Regions from separate parts of the Homo sapiens genome. Here region 1 is linked to region 2. Evidence: promoter capture Hi-C in 16 types of primary human blood cells and fetal thymus (Javierre and others, 2016). All regions are on one chromosome and are shown on one strand. Each heading gives the region's core, a stretch centred on a gene start or on the middle of the fragment in contact. The rest is flanking DNA. Distances are from core to core; before and after follow the strand shown. Region 1 overlaps GOLT1B (golgi transport 1B). Region 2 holds the start of IPO8 (importin 8).

Evidence for each region. Contacts are between HindIII fragments. The CHiCAGO score rates a contact against its expected background, and 5 or more counts as called.
Region 1: a fragment that was not itself captured here is called in contact with the fragment with the promoter of IPO8 in region 2 in 1 of 17 cell types (total B cells); the score reaches 6.5 in total B cells.

The regions. Positions count from the first base shown.
Region 1 is chr12:21,507,766-21,510,465 of GRCh38, forward strand. It overlaps GOLT1B (golgi transport 1B), which reads left to right. Exons shown (of 5, transcript NM_016072.5): 3 at 618-796. Among named protein-coding and RNA genes, the nearest start is that of GOLT1B, 7.3 kb to the left of the region's middle. The HindIII fragment of the contact is 2,804 bases long and covers 1-2,698 here.
Region 2 is chr12:30,694,410-30,697,329 of GRCh38, forward strand. It overlaps IPO8 (importin 8), which reads right to left and starts at 1,460. Exons shown (of 25, transcript NM_006390.4): 1 at 1,155-1,460. The coding sequence starts at 1,238. RefSeq lists a silencer at 1,210-1,259 and an enhancer at 1,350-1,849. The HindIII fragment of the contact is 4,530 bases long and covers 1-2,920 here.

The DNA of each region.
Region 1 (2,700 bases), core at 47-2,546, 9.2 Mb before region 2:
TTAATCCATCACCATTTCTTGTCCACAGAATACATTCAAAATATTTGAAAACACATGGTTGTATTTTTATTTCTGCTGCCACCAGATATTCTAGAATTTATAAAACTAGAATCTTCTTGGCTTCACGTTGTTTCTTCTGCTATCAACTTAGCCATGTCAATATTTCTCCCATCCATAGAAACTCCTGTAGCCTATGATGAATATTTCAGAACCAAGAGGAATACCCTTGGGTGACATATTTATGGGCAGCTTTCCTCTTTATGCCTTGCCAACTCATCTGCTTGACTAAGCCTTCCTCATCCAGCTAAAACTAGGAAAACTACTGCAGACACAGATGCCCCTTGGTAACGTCTAATCTTTCTTTGTTTCTCTTTTTCTCCATTTAATCAAGATAGAAGAGGAATGAGACAAGTGGAACAAAGCTACAACTTTAAAATGCATAACCCACTCCTTGGTTCTGCTGCTTGGTTGTACATTACAGTTCTGTCTGGCCAGTTGCCCACATTAAAAGCCAAACAAATGTGCTTCTTTTTTTATATTTAGCTTTGACTTTACGTTTAAAATTTATGCATTGTGTTTAATTACCTTTTCCGTGTTGTATTTTCTTTCTCTTTTAGGTTTTATTTGTAGCCGGCTTGGCTTTTGTAATTGGTTTAGAAAGAACATTCAGATTCTTCTTCCAAAAACATAAAATGAAAGCTACAGGTTTTTTTCTGGGTGGTGTATTTGTAGTCCTTATTGGTTGGCCTTTGATAGGCATGATCTTCGAAATTTATGGATTTTTTCTCTTGTTCAGGTAAGGCATATTATTGTCTCTTTCAGTAAATCAGTGTGTCAGATAGTTAGTACAAAAACTCAGATATTTGCATCAGTTGGAGTAAGATGATGATCATTTCCTTAAATGGAATTTTATTTAGGTTGAATCTTATAGATTTAGATGAAGCAACTATAAAAATGTTTTATCACATGTGAATGATTGCCTAATGGTATAAATTATCTTGTTTTGTCAGCACAATAAAGTTTATTTTATTGGCATTTTAAGGCACCATCTTTATGTTGGATATTTGTATCAACTAAATAGTGGTAGGTAGGTCGGTCGATCGATCAATCGGTAGGTAGGTAGGTAGATAGATAGATAGATAGATAGATAGATAGATCCAGCATTTTGGTGTGTAGAATCTTATACTTCATAGCTACTGCTACTTGATGGAAATTTATTTAGCACATATACGTATTAGAAGATTGTTTACCAAATACACTACTATGGGAGATTTTGAGCAGGTAATATTTTGTAAATGCCAGTTAGCAGATAAACAATAGTATGTGTATATATCTATATGAAAATACCTTTGGCCAGGTGCGGTGGCTCACACCTGTAATCCCAGCACTTTGGGAGGCCGAGGTGGGCGGATCACCTGAGGTCAGGAGGTCAAGACCAGCCTGGCCAGCATGATGAAACCCCGTCTCTACTAAAAATTCAAAAATTAGCTGGCCATGCTGGCAGGCGCCTGTAATCCTAGCTACTCGGGAGGCTGAGGCAGGCGAATTGTTTGAACCTGGGAGGCGGAAGTTGCAGTGAGCCGATCACACCATTGCACTCCAGCCTAGGCAATAGAGCGAGACTCTGTCTCAAAAAAAAAAAAAAAAAAAAAAAAAAAACAGAAAAGAAAATAACTTTAAGTAGGGTTGAGCTTAATTATTTATTCCAGAAATGCATATCCTTTGTCTTCTGTCTGCCAGGCACTGTATTACCCACAGGAGACATAAAAATAAATTAAGTACCAAATCTGCTTTAGAAAATCTCTCATTTCTATTATGGAAAGTAGACTCTAAAAATACCAATAGGATATAGTCATAATGCCATTATAAATGTGTATGCAGAATATTGTGGAAGCATGATTAAAAAATTAGTAAATTCAAGGAGAGGTGAGAAATGTTAACTGATAAACTGGGCTTTGAAGAATGGGTAAGAATTTATCCTATAAACGAGAAAGGGAACGACAGTTAACAGAAGGAACAGACAGGGCCATAAAAACACACAGCTTGTTCTGAAAAGAATGAATACTCTTATAGAACAGGAGCATGTGATCAGTTGAAGGAAATGGTTGGTAATGAAACTGAAAATGAAGCCTGGAGCCAGGTTACAAACTTTCTTTGATGACTTGTTGAGAAAAGTATACCTTATCCTGTAACCAAATTTGGGCTGGGGGAGCAGTGTTTGGAGAAGGTCGGGGGAGTGGGGCACAGAGGTTTTTAAGCCAGAGGTGGTACAACAGGGTAGATGTTTTAGGAAGGTTGTTCTGATATCAGGATAAAGTAGGTATTAAAGAGAAAAACTGAAGTCAGGGGAGCCAGTCAAGAGGCGGTTAATACAGTACAGAATATACAGTGATAAGACTGGAATCTTGGAGTACTTTTGACATTTTAGGGTAGGTGGAGAAAAAGAAGAAAACACTAGAAGAGACTAGGAAAAGAGGTGGGAGAAGAACTAGGAGTAAAGATCATAGTGGCTAAGAGAGAAAAGAGTGAAGAAGAGTTTGTTTTGGCAGATGTATCTTGCAGCAGAAAACTTAAGCACCTTAAGAAGTAAGAAAATCATTGGCTTTCCCAGTTATGTGGGGGTTTTAGTAATGAAGGTTAAAAGCCAAAGCTGATCTTTGAGATGAATAAAAAATGGGAAGTCTTAGTATCATCGACAAG
Region 2 (2,920 bases), core at 210-2,709:
CTCCAAACTCCACCTAGGTTTCCTATTAAAATAATCCCTTTCAAAGATTCCCAACACGCAGCTTTTTAAAGTCAATTCCAACAGAAACATTTACTTAGGACAGTCACACTTCAGTCACACTTCGGGAGGCACAGAATCACCTGGGGGAGCTAGTTAAAATACAACTGGTCCCACCCCCACAGTTTCTGATTCGTTAAGTCTGGACTGAAGCCCCGTAATTTGCATAATTTGTAAGTTCTCAGGTGATGCTGAAGCTCCAGGTCCTGGGCAACGCTTTGAGAACAGCTGATTTTGGAATATTTACATTTTACAAGTCATCACAACCTAAAACAGCTGTTGCTCCATCCCAGTGGTAGCTCTTAATCCCTACTTTTTAGTAAGAGGTCTGTGATTCTTAAGTACCGGTAGGGAAGAAGAAATAAGCTGGAGTTTGGGATCATTAAAATTTTGAAGTGTGGGGGTAACGCTGGAAAGACGTCAAGGCTAATTAGGAAGAACAGGAGACGGAGAAAAGAAAGAAGTCTTACACATTTTAGCATTCATAAGAAATTTCTCCAACACATCTTACTTTGATGTGTCTTAGATAAAGCAGTATCACCATGAAAACTGCCTATTCTTCCCAGAGCACTCTCCCAACAGCACTGCCCAGCGCTCCGCAAAACTCGGCCAATCGGTGTCAAAACAGTCCTGCCAACCCGACAGGAGGAGGCGGTGGGCAGCGTGCTCCACAGCAACACCTAAAAAGGGCTGGGTTTGGAAAAAAGCTGAACTCAGATTTGAACTGTAAGTAAAATTCCCACCTGCTCCCCAAGTCCGCGCACTTAAGGAAAATAAATCACACCCTGAAAACACTAGCACAGGTTGCAAAAACTGCTTCTTGCGGACCAAGTAGGCAGAACAAACTGCCCTGGAGAAGGGAGACGACACGAAAAGGTGCAAAGGTGGCCAACAGGTGCGCGAGCTGTTCGGCAAAGATCCTGGGAGCCCTGCTCCACTGGACCGGGGGGCAGCGGGGTCGGAGAGCGGGACCAGCCGTGAGGCGTCAGCCCCAGCCCGGTGGGGGTGAGGACGAGGGGCGCCGGGGAGAGGGAGCCCGGCCAGCCGGCAGGGGCGCCCCTTCGGCGGAAGAGGGTCGCCGAAGACCCTCTCCTCACCTGGTTGAGCTCGTTCTCGGCTGCAATCCGCAACTTCGGGTCGATGGTGCCCTTCAGCGCCTGGATGATCCGGTTGAGGTCCATCTCCCCGGGTGGGGGCTCCGCGGCCCCCGGAACAGTAGGCCGGACTGCAGCTTTAGTTTTCTTTTGACCCTCTCAGCCTCCTCTTCCGCGACCCCTGGATTACCTCACACCCCACCCCCCGCCACCGTCGCCACCTGCGGCCACTTGCTGCGCCACTCTGACTCCGCGCCCCCTGTCCTCCCTTTTTCCCCCCCACAACTCGCTCTCCATTCACCGTTTTACGACAGCCGGTGGGAGGCGGGAGAAGGAAGAAGAGGAAGCAGAGCTTCCTTTACGGCGGCCTCTTCCCCCGGGCGTGATGCTATGACCGCCTCCCGTCGGCGGCCGCCATGCTGCTGTACGGAAAACGGCCTAGGCTTCTTTCCCGGAAAGGAACCCGCGCTCCCGAACTCAGGCAGGCGGCCGCTATGCTTCCGTACGGTAAACAGCCTCCCGCCTCTTCCCAGGTGAGGAAACTTGAGCTGGCCGGGAGTCTGCTTACAGCTGCTTCCAAATTAAGCATATCTGGATGGTGTGACACTTTTTGTTAGTCCGAGAACTGTATGGGCATCGCAACTGGGCCTGTTCCAAGATAGACTTGTTGGGACCTTCAAATCATGTACCTTACAGGAGGACAGGGTTCCTCCGTGTGTGGGAGTCATCGTTCATTCATTCATTCGCTTTCACTGAACATTTGTTAAACATATATTTTTGAACCAGAGTACTAGGATTTTTAGGTACCACATTATAACAAGATGAATTCCATGCAAGTTAATGTGAAGGAATTCACAACCTGATAGATGAGACAAATATAAACAAAAAAAATTTACAGTGTAGAAATGATAGGGGAGTGCTGGGAAGGGAAGAGCGTGGTCCCTTTAAATGATAGGGATGGGCGAAGTGAAGTGCTGGGTAGAGGAGTGTGTGGTCCCTTGCTAGGGCTCCACGCCCACCGACCTAGGTGAGGACTGACACTCCTGCCTTCCAGCCCAAATGTTGCATTTCCCAAGACCACCCTGGCCTGCCACTCCCCCATACTGTGCCTATGAAAACCCCAGACCCTAGCAGGCAGGTACACAGGCAGCCAGACGTCCAGAGGAGCATAAGGGTGGAAGAAGAGGAGCTCGCTGGCACATCCGCAGGCCATTCACGGGCAGAACGATGCGGAGGTTGGCCTGGGCAGTCGGAAAAGAGCCCGGGCCGCCAAGCGGCCTAACTCCAGAGGAAAACCATTTCCCTTCTGGGTCCCTCATCTGCTGAGGGCTACTTCCACTCAATAAAACTTTGCACTCATTCTCCAAGCCCACGTGTGATCCAATTCTTCTGGTACACCAAGGCAAGAACCCAGGATACAGAAAGCTCGCTGTCTGTGCGACAAGGTAGAGGGTCTAATTGAGCTGGTTAACACAAGCCCCCTAAAGGCAAACTGAAAGAGCATCCTGTAACACACACCCACTGGGGCTTCAGGAGCTGTAAACATTCACCCCCAGACTCTGTCAAGGGGTCGGAGCCCCACAGCCTGCCGGTCTGTATGCTTCTCTAGAGGTCTGAGCAGCGGGGCACTGAAGAAGCGAGCCACACCCCCAATGCACGCCCTGTGAGGGGGACAAGGGAACCTCTCCCATTTCAGAAAGACAAAGGTCACAGAAACTGAAAACTACATCCCTGAGAGTTTTATGAAAAATTTTCAGACCTTCTCAAAA